Regions from separate parts of the Homo sapiens genome. Here regions 1, 2, 4 and 5 are each linked to region 3. The links are contacts of gene promoters, found by promoter capture Hi-C in blood cells and fetal thymus (Javierre and others, 2016). All regions are on one chromosome and are shown on one strand. The core of a region is centred on a gene start or on the middle of the fragment in contact, and the rest is flanking DNA. Distances in the headings are between cores, read along the strand shown.

Region 1 (2,700 bases), core at 9-2,508, 750 kb after region 3:
ATCTATGTCACTATAGTCATCAAAATCAGGAAATTAATATTGTTAAAATACTACCATCTAATCCAGAGACCCCATTCAAATTGTTAGTTGTCCCAATAATATCCTTATAGCAAAAGGATTCAATTCAGAATCATGTATTCCACTTAATTGTCATGTATCTTAATTCTCCTTCAATCTAAAAACGTTCTTTAGTTGTTCCTTTGTCTTTCATGACCTTGATCTTTGAAGAGTACAGGTCTATTATTTTGTAGAATGTCCCTCAATTTGGGACATTTGGGTTGTCTGATTTTTTCCTCACGATTGATTCGGATTACACATTTTTGGCAGGAATGTCACAGAAGTGTATTCTAAGTGCCTCTAACCAGGACATACACGATGCTGATTTGTCTCATGACTGCTGATGGTAACTTCGCTCACCAGTGCCAGATTTCTACACTGTCAAGTTTTCTAATTTTTCTCTGTGTAATTAATAAGTATTTGCTGGAGAGATACTTTGAGACTATATAAATATTATATGTCTCTTAATACTCTCACCCTCTAGTTTTAGCATACACTGATGATTCTAGTCTGAATCAACTGTTACTATCATGACTGCCAAATAATGATGTTTCTACATATAACACTGTCTACATTCATTACATTTAGTTGGCATTTTTATGTAAGGCAGAGCTTTTCTTTATCCTGATTTTTCAAAAAAATCATTTATTCATTTTAGTATGGGCTCAAATATTCCTATTTTATTTAGCGGACTATAATCCATTAACATTATATTGGTGCTCAGATTGACCCAGATGTGGCCAGTGGTGGCTCCTTCAAGCTGGCTTCTGTGACCTTTTGATATGTTTCTTCATTCTGTATTAACTTCCTTAACTTCTGGTGCAACAAGAATTTTCCAGGCTCCTGTTCTAAAATCAACCATTTCTCCAAGGGACCCAGTTACTTTTAGTGAATAATACTGTTCAGAAACCAAGATCTAGGCACATGTGCTCATTGCTTCTAGTATACCATTACTCTGAAACCCTTTCAGCAGATAGAGCTAGGAAGAGCATAATAGATAGATACGCACACACATACAGACATACTTTCCTCTATATTTATTTTTACATATGTTTATGTATATATTGAAAACTATGAGTTGACACTGACATATTCAATTCCAATTCAACATCACCACAAAGGTCACTGTGGAATTCTTCCTCTCTCAATTTGTAACGTCCTTCTCTGTCAGTGAGAAACCTGGCTCCCATTAGACCCAACATATTTATTTCCTCACTCCCCTTTCATGCTTGCCACCTCTTTACTTGCCAAGGGGAAGGCAAAACAGCTGGTCATCGTTTTTTATTATTTCTTATCATTCACTCTTCCATCCAATCAATCACTAAGTCCTGACATTTTTACCTCCTAAAAATTTCTCAAATTGGTCCATTTCTCTCCATTCTGATTTTTCTTAGCCTTGACCATGCCACCTTTGTCTCTTACATGGCTTACAGCAACGGCATCTTAAATGGTATTCCCAGATCTAGATTTGCTTCCTTCCTGTCTGTTCTCCACCCTGCAGCCAGAGTTATCTTTATGATATTAAAATTTGAAAATTTCACTCCATAAAATTCTATAGTGGTATTCCACTGACCAATACTGTCTGGGTCTCTTCATAGCTTGTTTAACTCTCTTGTTTTGTCTCCTCCAAAAGCCCCTAGTCTCATTCTCTACCTTTTAGTTAGCCAACTTGAACTTTTTTTTTTTTTCTTCCAGTTCTTGTATTATACCAAACTTTCTTGTAGTGAACACTATACGCCACCTTCTTCTACCTGGAAACCCTTCCTAACCTGGACAACTCTACACATTATTTTGGTCTTTACTTAAATGTCACTTCTGCTATGAAATATTCCCTGACCTCCCCCACCCCACTGCACCTCTGCATGCTACTGTAAATGGAGAAGCAAGAGATGATAACAGGGTTACACATCCGCTAGTCTGGGGATTGTATTCTGAAACTAACACCCTACTAAGAATGAGCAGTCAGAGTTATAACTTCCCTTTGGAAAAGCAGGTACTTAAATGCAGTTGTGAGGACAGATGAAAAGTACATAAAACACCTACAATGCATACCTCCTAGAAGGAGCTCAATATATGTTATCCATTATTCATTCAACAAATGTTCATGAAATGCCAACTATTTCATAGACACTGTGGTAGATGCTGGGGATAGAGAAAATACAAAGTAAACTATGAAACTATAGAATGAGCATCCAAAGTCTAATATATAGAATGAGTATCCGAAGTCTAATAGGGAGTAGGAGTGTTTGAAGGAGTCAGTCAACCTGCTTAAGATTCAAAGGATGGACAACATTTGGCTGTGATGCAGGAGTGTAAAAGGAGGAATTTTCAGGAAGAGAGGACAATATGAGTAAGGACGGGGCGTGAAAGGCTATGGATTGTTTTTCATGGTACACATAATTCAATGTTGCATAAAACTGCATGGTACACATGATTCAATATTGCATAAAATTGGAACAAGAAGCTAACGAGAGATGAAACTAGTCAGGGAGATGGAGAATCTTGTATCCTAGGCAAAGTAATCATTTTCTCTTACAGATTGCCTTTCAAAAATTTTCAGCAGGAGAGTGCCATTATCCGATTTACATTTTTAGTCAGGTCATTCTGATAGCAGTGTGGAGAATTTAAGAGTCAAACTGGAGT
Region 2 (2,700 bases), core at 17-2,516, 520 kb before region 3:
ATGAATAATCTTGGAACTATTTATCCTTCTATTTTTATTCTCTAAGATCTGAATTTTTTTTTAATTCATATTTCTGTTAGCAGCCCTATCTATTCCCTCTTGAAATGACCTCTGAAGGCTGTTAAATAAATTTTGATTTGCTTTAAGGATTCAGTATTCAAATCATGCTTGATTCTTTGGGAGATATAAAGAAAGCTGTTGCTCCATAGGTCTTGCATCATACGTGATATGACTAAGAAGGAACAACTGAAAAAGTCAAGTCCAATTTACACAATAATGAAAAACCTTTTGTTAGAAACATCTGACAAACAAGGAGCAGTTTCTGGTTTTTTAAAGAATCATTAGAATATAGTTCCATGTCTCTTTTTCTGTCTTGTTAACCCTGCACCTCTAGTACCTAATGGAGTGCTTGGCACTTGATACAGATTGATTGATTGAATGAATATCACACTTTCCCCCCAGTGGTGTTTTAGTTATTGGTTTTGATGTCTGCTTTTTCTGCTTAAGTGTGAGTTAATGACAAAGATCACATTTTATGGTTCTTGACATGCCCCAGGTCTTCTGTATCAGTGTGTGACCTGTAGATGACACTTAATGATGTTTGTAGAATACAATTCAATGATGTCATCCCTTTCCTGGAGCGGCTCACAGTCTGGTAAGGGAGACCAGCCTATGAACGTATTATATATATTGTGCTAATTGTTTGTTGTTGTTGTTTTTTAAAAAATTTGAGACTGAGTCACTCTGTCACCCAGGCTGGAGTGCAGTGGTGCGATCACAGCTCACTGCAGCCGTAACCTCCTTGGGCTCAGGCGATCCTCCCACTTCAGCCTTCTGAGTAGCTGGGATCACAGGTGTGTGCCACCATGCTGGCTAATTTTTTAATTCTTTTTTTGTAGAGATGGGGTTTTGCCATGTTGCCTAGGCTGGTGCTAATTGTTATACTAGAGGTTTATGTAAGGTTCTTTGAGAGCACAAATCATGGAGGATTCTTCAGGAGGAGAAGGAAGTGTGGAGGAGGTTGGCTAAGACATTGGACAGGAGGTGACATTTGAACTGGGTTTTGAAGGATAATGATGAAAGCTAACATTTATTGAGCACTTAACATGTGCCAGGCATTTTATAATAAATCATGGAAAAAATGAGTCTCTCCATAAGGAAGGGGTAGGATAAAGAGAAGGCCTATGATAGAACTAAGGAAACACTGGCATTTAAAGATGGACGGCGGGGCATGGTGACTCATGCCTGTAATGTAATCCCAGCACTTTGGGAGGCTGAGGCAGGCAGATCACCTGATGTTTGAGACCAGGTGTTTGAGACCAGCCTGGCCAACGTGGAGAAACCCCATCTTTACTAAAAATAGAAAAATTAGCTGGGTGTGGTGGCACCCGCCTGTGGTCCCAGTTACTTGGGAGGCTTAGGCATGAGAATCACTTGAACCCAGGAGGCAGAGGCTGCAGTGAGCTGAGATCGTACCACTGCACTCCAGCCTGGGTGAAACAGCCAGACTCTGTCTCAGAAAACAACCAACGAACCAACCAACAACAACAACAACAAAAAATGGGCAAAGGAAGGCATCATCTAGTGAGAAAGGGAAGATGGTAAGATGGCACAACAGATGAGAGAAAGTTCAGAGAGGGAGAGAGAGAAGGGATTAGCTCTAAAAGCAATGCAAAGAGGGCTTGTCCGAAGGTCAGTGAAGTTGAATGTTTCAGAGAAATAACTGGACTTGGAGATCAGAAAACCCCTGATAACTTTGCCAGAGCAGTTTCAGGAAAGCAGGTGGTGGTAGATGTCAGGTACGGTGACTTGACTGATTTCTGGAGAACAACAGAAGGCATGTAACAGGGAGTGTTATTTAAAGAAATGTGTTCACGAGGAAAGCAGAGAGAAGGCAGTCTCTGGAAGCGGTGCAGGCTACTCCCAAGGTAAGGCACGTGGCCTGGCTGCTGGTATTCATGCCTCAGATGGGATGAGGTCAGTAGGCCTTTGTGGGCTCAGGTGTTATTTAACAGGGTTTCCATGGGAATGTGGAAGGCAAATTCCCAACCACTTTCTTATGAGAATAACTTCTGGAGCATGACCCTTTGTAAATGTACTTGTTTTCTTGCTAATTTTAATTGACTGAAAATAGAGTTGTTTTTCCTTCCGAGAATCTCTTAACTTAGAGAAATTTGAATTCACACTGATACAGCTTAAGTTGAGAATTCTTGACTGGCTTGAACCCAATTTACAGAGGTGTAGGACTTCTTCAGGAAGGGAAAGTGCCCATCTCTCAGGCCAGTTAAGTCTTCCATGCATCTGTCCCCAATGGCCAGATTTCACAGGCTTTTGAAAGCTCAAGAATAGGAACTGGAACCTGAAACGCCTTTCTTGTTTTCTCAACCACTTGAAACACTTAATTGCTCATAATGCTGGCTGCATAACAGTGAACATGATTCATTTTTAAAAATGAGATTTATTTTGCTCAGTTTGCCACCTTACTTTGTAAACTTACAGTGGAAACAGTTAACATTTTTTCAAAACTCGGCTTGATTTTTAGGTTTTCTTCATCTTAAGCTTCCTAACCCCTCCTCAGTGGAGGGCTGCTGTCAGTAGATTACTGAAGTAAACCCTGGATTAACCTGCATTGTCTCACTACTGTATGTGCATTCATTCATTTTCATTGTCTGTTCATTCATTTCAAAAAGAAGCCCCCCG
Region 3 (2,700 bases), core at 33-2,532:
ATAAAGTCGTGATTTATTCACAAGGGCAAAGGGAAGGACAAGGAACTTGAGAAAATTACTCCATCTAGGGTTTCTGATCCATCATCATCCTTGTTCTGCGCTCACTCAGCCGTATCCAGCTCTACTGGGCATATCACTATTATTGCTATCAATTGTTTTGCTAGTTGCTTAGTCCCAAATCATTATCATCTTTTCTGTCATTCCACATTTAGGTATTTTATTCAACAAATAGACTGAATGCCTATTATATACCAGACACTCTTCTAAAGCACTGGGGAAAGATAGAGCATGGATCAAAACAACTTCCTGTTCTCCTGGAGTCTACAATTTTGTTTGGTGGTAGTGGAAGCGTAACTAAATATATATGATAAGTGCTATAGAGAAAAGCAAATTAGGGTTAGAATGGAACGAGATGCCCCGCTGGCCTGTAAGCTCCAGGAGGACGAGGACCTGCCCTCTCATTAAGGTATTTTCCGTGCTTAGAATGGTGTCTGCTACGTAGTAGATATCTATTATTGGTTGAATGAATAAGTGATGTTGACCATAGATAAATTAGTTCAAAACTTAGATTTTCAAATTATGTCAGTAGCAGGCACACATCTTAAATTGTTATATCACTCCAGTGCACGTCTTGCTGAAATTCAGAAGAGGAAGCTATTTCGTATGAAGCCAATAACCTCAAATCAGAAATGAAAACTGGGATATCACCTGTCATATCACTTGCCATCCTCGGCTAAGCCAGGAGAGTGTCCGGCCCAATATTCGGTAGCCTGGATACGTAGGTGTATTTAGTGAACGAAAGAATGAATCCTAGCCACTGCAAAGCTGCAAAACCCTCGGGGGTAGTGCTTGGCTTCTGCCAGTTCCACAAGTATTTTAATATTAGCTGAACAAATGAAATGACCAAAAAATAAATCGCGATTTTGTGTCAGATGAACTTGGGAAGGCGGATGCGCTTAGGGTCCGGCTGTAGCGAGTAAGACACTCCCTGCGAAGAGTTCTGTGGGGTACGAACTCCGGACTGCGAGTCCAGCTCACGAGTTTGTACCTAAAACCTTGCCCTGCGGGAGCGACGCTGTCCTAACGCGACCTGCCCTGCCCGTCAGCTCCTATTGGCTGACTCTCGGAAGACCCGCCTCTTGAGAAGGAAAAGCAGTCGCTTCCCGAATTGCCTGACATCATGCAATGACCAATCAGAAGCAGCGATCTTCAGTTTTGCCCAATGAGGCTGGTTACGGGTCCTGGCCCGCGGAGTTTGATTTCGTCCTGGGATGCGGAAGTAGCAGTCCTGTCATGCGGAAGTAGCAGTCCGGTCCTAGGGACTAGCAGGTGGGTTGGTTGGGCGCAGGAGGACGGGGGCGCGCTTCCCATAACATTACCCTGGCTGAGCGTGAGGCTCCAGGGCTGGGCACCGGGTTGACCTCTTATTCCTCGCTGAGGGCATCGTTACCGCCTGTGGCTGCAAGCCGAGGCGCGCGGGTGGAAACTGGGTCGAGGTCTGGGTAGACGTCTGAGCGATCTGCACAAGGAGTGGCGCAGTCTGGAATTTGATTGAGGATTCCTAACGCCCTCCGCTTGATGTTCTGGTGATTCCCGGGGGCTCGGCTTCGGAGGAAGGTGAGCAAGGCTACCACGCTGTGTTTGGAGAGCACCAGGAAGCTTGTGACCAAAGCGAGGGACGCGATCCGGCTCTGGTCACGGCCTGTTACTAGATGGGTGACCAAGTCACGTCCCGTATCTGGAATTCATGCTTCTCATTTTAAAAGAGTGAGGAGGGATGGGCATTCCACATGGCTGGGGAGGCCTCACAATCATTGCTGAAGGCAAATGAGTAGCAAAGTCACATTTTACATGGTGGCAGGCAAGAGGGCTTGTGCAGGGGAACTCCTGTTGATAAAACCATCACATCTCATGAGACTTATTCACTACCACGAGCATAGTATGGGGGAAGCTGCCCCCATGATTCAGTTATCTTCACCTGGCCCCACCCTTGACACGTGAGGATATGTGTGTGAGAAGAGCTACTGTTTATTTTTTTAAAAACTGAGTCGTCCCTTGCCTGCTTTCAAGGGTTGGCTAAACTCACCCATCTGCTAAGAGTCTCAGCCCAAAGCTTTCAGGAAAGAGCGAGCTTCGCTGTGGCATGTAACTTGAAGCCTTGCCTACTAAGTAGATGTCCAGTTTGTTGATTGGTCTCTATTAACTAGGCTCAAACATCCTACGAGGTTTTAATGTAATCTAACCAATTAATTGAAATTTCCTTTACAACCCTCTCTTTCCCCCAGACTTCCCCTTCCTTTCTTTTTCTCTGACTTAAAAGAATGCTGGCTAGGAGAAATTAGTTGACTGTGTCGTGTATCAAGAGGACTTTTCCAGGTTATGTAGTACAATTTGGCATTTATTTGTCAAGAGTAACATTTTCTAAAATTTTCCCCAAAGGCACCAAGAAACTGATAATGTTCCTTTGAATTGGCTTCTGTATTTGCTTCATCAATGTCTCTCATACTGAATATCTTAAGAGAGATGCTGGAATATTTTGGCGTTCCTGTAGAACAGGTAAATGTCGTTTTGGATTGGAATGGATCTGTTGTATTTGTTCTTGGGTTTCATTTTGAAAATGACTTATATGTAATCATTTGATTTAAGGCAAAGTTGTTGCTTCTTTTTAGTTGGAACAAAGGTGAGTTTGTAATAGTATAG
Region 4 (2,700 bases), core at 23-2,522, 550 kb after region 3:
GACCAACCTGTCCAACAGGGCCAAACCCCATCTCTACTAAAAATACAAAAATTAGTTGGGCATGTGCCCATAGTCCCATCTACTCAGGAGGCTGAGGCATGAGAATTGCTTGAACCTGGGAGGCAGAGGTTGCAGTGAGCCGAAATCATACCACTACACTCCAGCCTGGGCAACAGGGTGAGACTCTGGCTCAAAAAAAATAAATAAATAATTTTAAAAAGTGAGAATCAGTGCATTCAAGGACTGGACCCTCTCCCCTAGCTTTGGAAAGTCTTTCTGACCAATCCCACCTCTTTGCATAATTCCAGCTATTACCTATGTGCCATCAGTGACCCCCCCAAACCCTGATTCCAATTTTATAAGCCCTAAAGACATGCCCCAAATGAAACTTGGCATCCTCACTCATAAACTGCCACACCCCTATTTTTCACACTTTGGCTGATAGCATTGCTATACAATCAGTCACTGAAGCTAAAAACTTTAGTAGTTCTTGACTATTTCCTGTCCTTATAATATCCAATCAGTCACCAAACCTAACCCATTCCACTTCCTAAATGTCCCATTTATTCACTTAAAAATATAACAGATATTTACGGAGCACGCACTGCATGTCCAAAATGTTGCCCTGGTTGTTCTATCTGCCCTTTGCTGTATCCCCACCGTCCCTGCCCAAATCAAGGCCTTTCCCACCACTTCCTCCAATTGGTAAAATACCATCCTAGCTTGTGTGCAAGTTTCCAGTTTCCTGACCCACCCCATGCATATTTTCCACTATCAAAAGGATCATGTTCCTAAAATACAAGTCTAATATTATAACTATTGGCTTTAAAGCATCCTGTCTCCCTTGGAGCCCATAAGATTACATCTTAGAACAACACTCAAAGTCCATTACATTTTGGTTCCACCTTTCTTTCCTGGCTGTCTGCCTCCACCCGCCTATGTTCAAGCTTCTTTAAAAGGTCACTAATCTTCAAACACACCACCCACCCACCTGCTTATTATTTTTTTTAATGTGGTCATCTCTGGTAGCAATTTCTTCTCATCTTCTTTTTGCCTCAGAATTTAAGGCAACTTCAAATATTAGCTTCACTGTAAAGGCTTCTCGGATGCTCCCAGGAAGACTGGGTCACTCTTTTCATTATGCTTTCAGAATGAATTGGGTATCACTATATCATTTATTACTGAGGGACTGAATATACAAACTGACATGAACTAATCCATGTATAAAAATAGAACTTTGACCATCAACCTCCAGAATCTTGTCCAGAAAGCCAATCTGTTAACTTCAATAAATAGTCCAGGAAGCCAGCCTGCTATAAGTCAGGCTGCTATCTGTAGAAACAATATAGGAAGCTAAGCAAAAACTTCTGTAACAATCGGCTCAAAATGGCCAGGACTTGATTCATAACTGACAGCTTTCCCAATATCTGTCCCCACTCCAAACTTAGGACAAACCAGAGAAAGCCAAATATGCACCCCTAAGCAATCACAGAGGATGTTCTGCTTCTGGTTAGCCTACCTCCAACTTCCCCAAGACAACAGCCTCCAGTCAGGGTATGATTGAAGCCTTCCCTTTATTTCTCACTATGAAGCTTCCCACTCCTCTGCTTGCCTTTGATTCTCTCCCAAAACACAAGTGACAGTGGCAGACTCCCCTTGCTATAGCAAACACTGAATAAATAATCCTTGCTTTTCTTCTTTAGTTGGTTTTGGTTTCTTTCCACTGTCTTTAACCAGGACCTGCCACATAAAATTGGTTAATGAATGATGTGTTTTTGTTATTGTTATAGTGGCTTTTGTTGGATGGCTACTTACTGCTACCACAGGATGCTTTTCCCAACAATCCAACTTTGTCATTATAAATTTGTTACTAATATTCCCTTATTATCTGGGTAAAATCTATAGGATAGTTAATGATGTCCCCTCTTTAATTCTTGACTGATAATTTTTTGTCTTCCCTTTTTTTCCTGTATCAGTTTTGCTAGATATTTACCAATATTACTGATGTTGTCAAAAACCCAGCTTGGGGTTTCATAAATTTTCTCAGTTTGTCTTGGGTTTTCTATTTTTGTTATCATTTTTATTCTCTTCCTTCTGCTTACTTTGGTTTAACTTTTCTTCTCTTTTCCAGCCTCTTGTGGTGGGAATTTAGACTCTAATAAATTTAGATCATTGATTGTTGATACTACTTCTTTTCTAATATAAGTATTTAGTTAGATGGTTTTGAGACTTGCTTTTAAGTTGTGCTTGGGCAGGGCTAGAGAAACCTTTCCTCTAGGAATGGGTTAGCCCACTACTGCAGAGTAGTCCTTCTGGATGGAGTCTTTACTGCATTCTCCAAGTAAAGAGGCTCAATGAGGGCTCTCCATGCTATCTGGTGGTAATGCAAATGATTCCGCAGTCTGTGTGTATTGTGGAAATACGCTCCTCTCATAACTCCACAGTTGTTCTTTGCCCAGCCTTGTAGCATTTCACGCTGTGCATTGTCTTGATATTTTTCAGACTCATGGGACCCACTGTGTATATTTCTCAAGCCCGTTTTCTGTGTAGCTCCCTACTCTGTAGATCTCTGCCTCACCATTTACAGACACCAGACTTCCTAAACTTCAAGTTCTGCCTCCTCAATTATATAAGACAACTTTTCCTTGCTTGGAATCTCCCTCTCTGCTCTGCAGTCTAAAATGTGCCTCCAGGCGAAAA
Region 5 (2,700 bases), core at 201-2,700, 570 kb before region 3:
ACAAAAAAATACAATAGACCACTGACATTATGAAATGAGTTTTTGCATCTCGCTTCAGTGCGTATAATAGCTAGGACATGAATTAAGGCAAAAGCGAGAATGAACCTACGCCTTTTCATCTAGTCCACGGACTAGATGGACTCTTTTTTTTGAGACGGAGTTTTGCTCTTCTTGCCCAGGCTGGAGTGCAATGGCACGATCTCGGCTCACCGCAACCTCTGCCTCCTGGGTTCAAACTATTCTCTTACCTCAGCCTCCCGAGTAGCTGGGATTACAGGCATGCGCCACCACGCCCGGCTAATTTTGTATTTTCAGTAGAGATGGGGTTTCTCCATGTTGGTCAGGCTGGTCTGGAACTCCCGAACTCAAGTGATCCGCCCACCTCGGCCTCCCAAAGTGCTGGGATTACAGACGTGAGCCACCGCACGGCGCTTGGCCTTTTTTCTTTTTAAGACGGGGTCTCAGTCTGTCACCCAGGCTGGAGTGGAGTGATGTGATCTCAGCTCACTGGGCTGGGGCAGAGTGATGTGATCTCAGCTCATTGTAGCCTCAACATCCCGGGCTCAAGCGATCCTCCCGCCTCAGCCTCCTGAGCAGCTTTAACCACAGGCTGAGCCAATGCGCGCGACGGGAGACAATTAACTGGAGTCTGTAACACCTACTTGCGAATGTGTGCATTCCTCGTTAGACAACTACAGGTAAGAACTGAACTTGATATATTTCATGGTGTCACCCGTGGGACTCCAGGCGTCCATTCAGGAGCATCGTCCTTAGGAAGGCCAGCCCGCAGGTCGCAGCTCAGTGCTCGAATGCAGACTGGGAATTGTGGGCCAACTCGCGAGCCCTGGGTCGGTTCTGGCTCAGACCGTCTTCCCCGTACTGCTGTGCCGAGCGGACCGATCCAAGGGACCGCGCAGGCTCCCCCGGCTCTCCCTACGGGGACGTGTGCCTGGGCGTGTGACACGTGGCGGAGGCAGCGCGGTCTCAAGGAACAAGGACACGGGCTACTAGGCTACACGTATATGCACTTGCACACAACTGGAAGATCGACTCCTGCTTCAGACCAACTCCTCGCACTCGGCAAAGAAAGGAGAAGCGCCGACCAGCGCCTCTTCTGCCCCCTGGCGTGGACCCGCGGAACCGTCTACGCTCAGAGGGGCTTTCCCTCGAGCGCGAGGAACTGGAGCCCGGCTGGCCCCCGCCTCCGCCTCCGCCCCCCGGCCCCAGCTGCGCGGCGCCGCCTCACCCGCGATGCCGTAGTGCTGCGCGGTGGCGCAGGCCAGGCGGCCCGGCAGGTACGGGGAGAACTCGGCGGCGTAGCCGTGGCGTCCCGGCGTCCGCAGCATCCGCGCCGCTCCACCGCACACCGCACTCATCCCGCCCGCCGCCCCCGGCCCTCGCTGCCCCGGCCGCGGAAGCCGTTCCGAGTCGGAGGCACACTGGCGCGGTTAGAGAGACCAGGCAGACCGGACGGAAGTGTGGGCCCCGTGCCCTGTGTTTGAGATTCTGATTGGTCCGCACAGGAAAGGGCGTTGACTCCGACGGAGACCATTTTTGTTTTGGGTGAATCCAAACTGAATTGCGCCTGCTGCAAAGATACAGATCTATCAGGGGAGTGATCCAGGGTTAGGTATTATTAATAATTACGACAGCTTTTGTCGTTGCATCTCAGCCTCCTCTGCGGTGCTATCTGGTTTTTATTTCATTGAGCGTTTGGAAGACTGGCATCAGGAACTTTTCCTGATGATTATAAAGTGAGAAAAGTTACAGCCGACTCTGAAACCACGCAGCGCGTCCAAAATTGCGTGCTGCGTTGCCCAAGGAAACTGGAAGCAATGAGAACTTAAGTCCGTGGAGTCACTGCGGTCTTTAGGAATAAGAGCGTGGGCTGGTGGGCTACTTTCACACTGTAACTGGAAAAGATGAAACACCAACTCCAAACCAACTCCCCATGCTTGGCAAGTGAGAAAAAGGAGCTGGCCAGTTCTAATGAAGCTAAGCAAAAAAGCAGCACATCATCATATACAACTTTTTTAAAAAGTATTACTATACATGTATATATTGTATGGTAATAAGTGCTCAGATGCTGGTGCTCATTCATTCATTTATTGCCAGGCATATACTATGTGGAGAATGACCAAATATAATTTATCTGCCAAACCAAGATACTTTTGAGAGTAAAGAGGGTGTAATTATTAAGCCAGGTCAACAGGCACAAACCAAGTCGTATGATCATCTTAACCATATACCAAGAACAGTACTAGGCATTTGGGATTCAAAATAATGGGATATGGTCCATGGCCTCAAGAGATTAGAGAAGAAGACTAAAAGAGAAGTCATGTAATTAGTTAAGTGTAATCAAAATACTGTAGAGGCTATGATAAATTTATATGGGGTATTTTTAAAAGGTGATTGTCCGTGCCAGAGGTATGGAAATTGCAGGAAAGGCTGCAGAAGAGAGATAAGTCTTTATGGTGATTGCACACAGATGAGTAGGTTTTCTTTAGGTAGACAAGAAGATGGAGATCTTTGTAGGAGCAGGAATAACATGAGCAACCCAGGAGATTTAAACCAGCATGATCCATAGGGGGTCGTGGCTGCCAGGACTCAGCCTGGCCAGATGGAAGGGATACGGTGAAAAAAATATTGGGTGGGGAGACTGTAGAGTGTTTTACTGGGGCTAGATCATGAAGAGTCTTA

Evidence for each region. Contacts are between HindIII fragments. The CHiCAGO score rates a contact against its expected background, and 5 or more counts as called.
Region 1: a fragment that was not itself captured here is called in contact with the fragment with the promoter of MTFR2 in region 3 in 16 of 17 cell types (fetal thymus, non-activated CD4 T cells, naive CD8 T cells and 13 more); the score reaches 27.2 in fetal thymus.
Region 2: a fragment that was not itself captured here is called in contact with the fragment with the promoter of MTFR2 in region 3 in 1 of 17 cell types (neutrophils); the score reaches 5.2 in neutrophils.
Region 4: a fragment that was not itself captured here is called in contact with the fragment with the promoter of MTFR2 in region 3 in 1 of 17 cell types (M2 macrophages); the score reaches 5.3 in M2 macrophages.
Region 5: a contact is called between the fragment with the promoter of PEX7 here and the fragment with the promoter of MTFR2 in region 3, in 2 of 17 cell types (neutrophils and activated CD4 T cells). The highest score is 8.8, in neutrophils.

Annotation. Positions count from the first base shown.
Region 1 is chr6:135,498,851-135,501,550 of GRCh38, reverse strand. All of the region lies in intron 2 of AHI1-DT (AHI1 divergent transcript), which reads right to left. Among named protein-coding and RNA genes, the nearest start is that of AHI1-DT, 2.4 kb to the right of the region's middle. The HindIII fragment of the contact is 6,529 bases long and covers 1-2,700 here.
Region 2 is chr6:136,772,483-136,775,182 of GRCh38, reverse strand. The region is part of intron 1 of MAP3K5 (mitogen-activated protein kinase kinase kinase 5); the gene reads left to right. Among named protein-coding and RNA genes, the nearest start is that of MAP3K5-AS2, 10 kb to the left of the region's middle. RefSeq lists a silencer at 1,838-2,132. The HindIII fragment of the contact is 2,590 bases long and covers 1-2,561 here.
Region 3 is chr6:136,248,893-136,251,592 of GRCh38, reverse strand. It overlaps MTFR2 (mitochondrial fission regulator 2), which reads left to right and starts at 1,282. Exons shown (of 8, transcript NM_001099286.3): 1 at 1,282-1,617; 2 at 2,440-2,556. The coding sequence starts at 2,494. RefSeq lists enhancers at 813-962, 1,613-1,832. The HindIII fragment of the contact is 2,013 bases long and covers 1-1,661 here.
Region 4 is chr6:135,698,005-135,700,704 of GRCh38, reverse strand. The region is part of intron 5 of AHI1-DT (AHI1 divergent transcript); the gene reads right to left. Among named protein-coding and RNA genes, the nearest start is that of LINC02524, 65 kb to the right of the region's middle. The HindIII fragment of the contact is 645 bases long and covers 950-1,594 here.
Region 5 is chr6:136,821,342-136,824,041 of GRCh38, reverse strand. PEX7 (peroxisomal biogenesis factor 7) reads right to left here and starts at 1,450. Exons shown (of 10, transcript NM_000288.4): 1 at 1,247-1,450. The coding sequence starts at 1,376. RefSeq lists enhancers at 840-999, 381-1,113, 1,114-1,846, 1,730-1,879 and a silencer at 1,170-1,549. The HindIII fragment of the contact is 4,798 bases long and covers 1-2,700 here.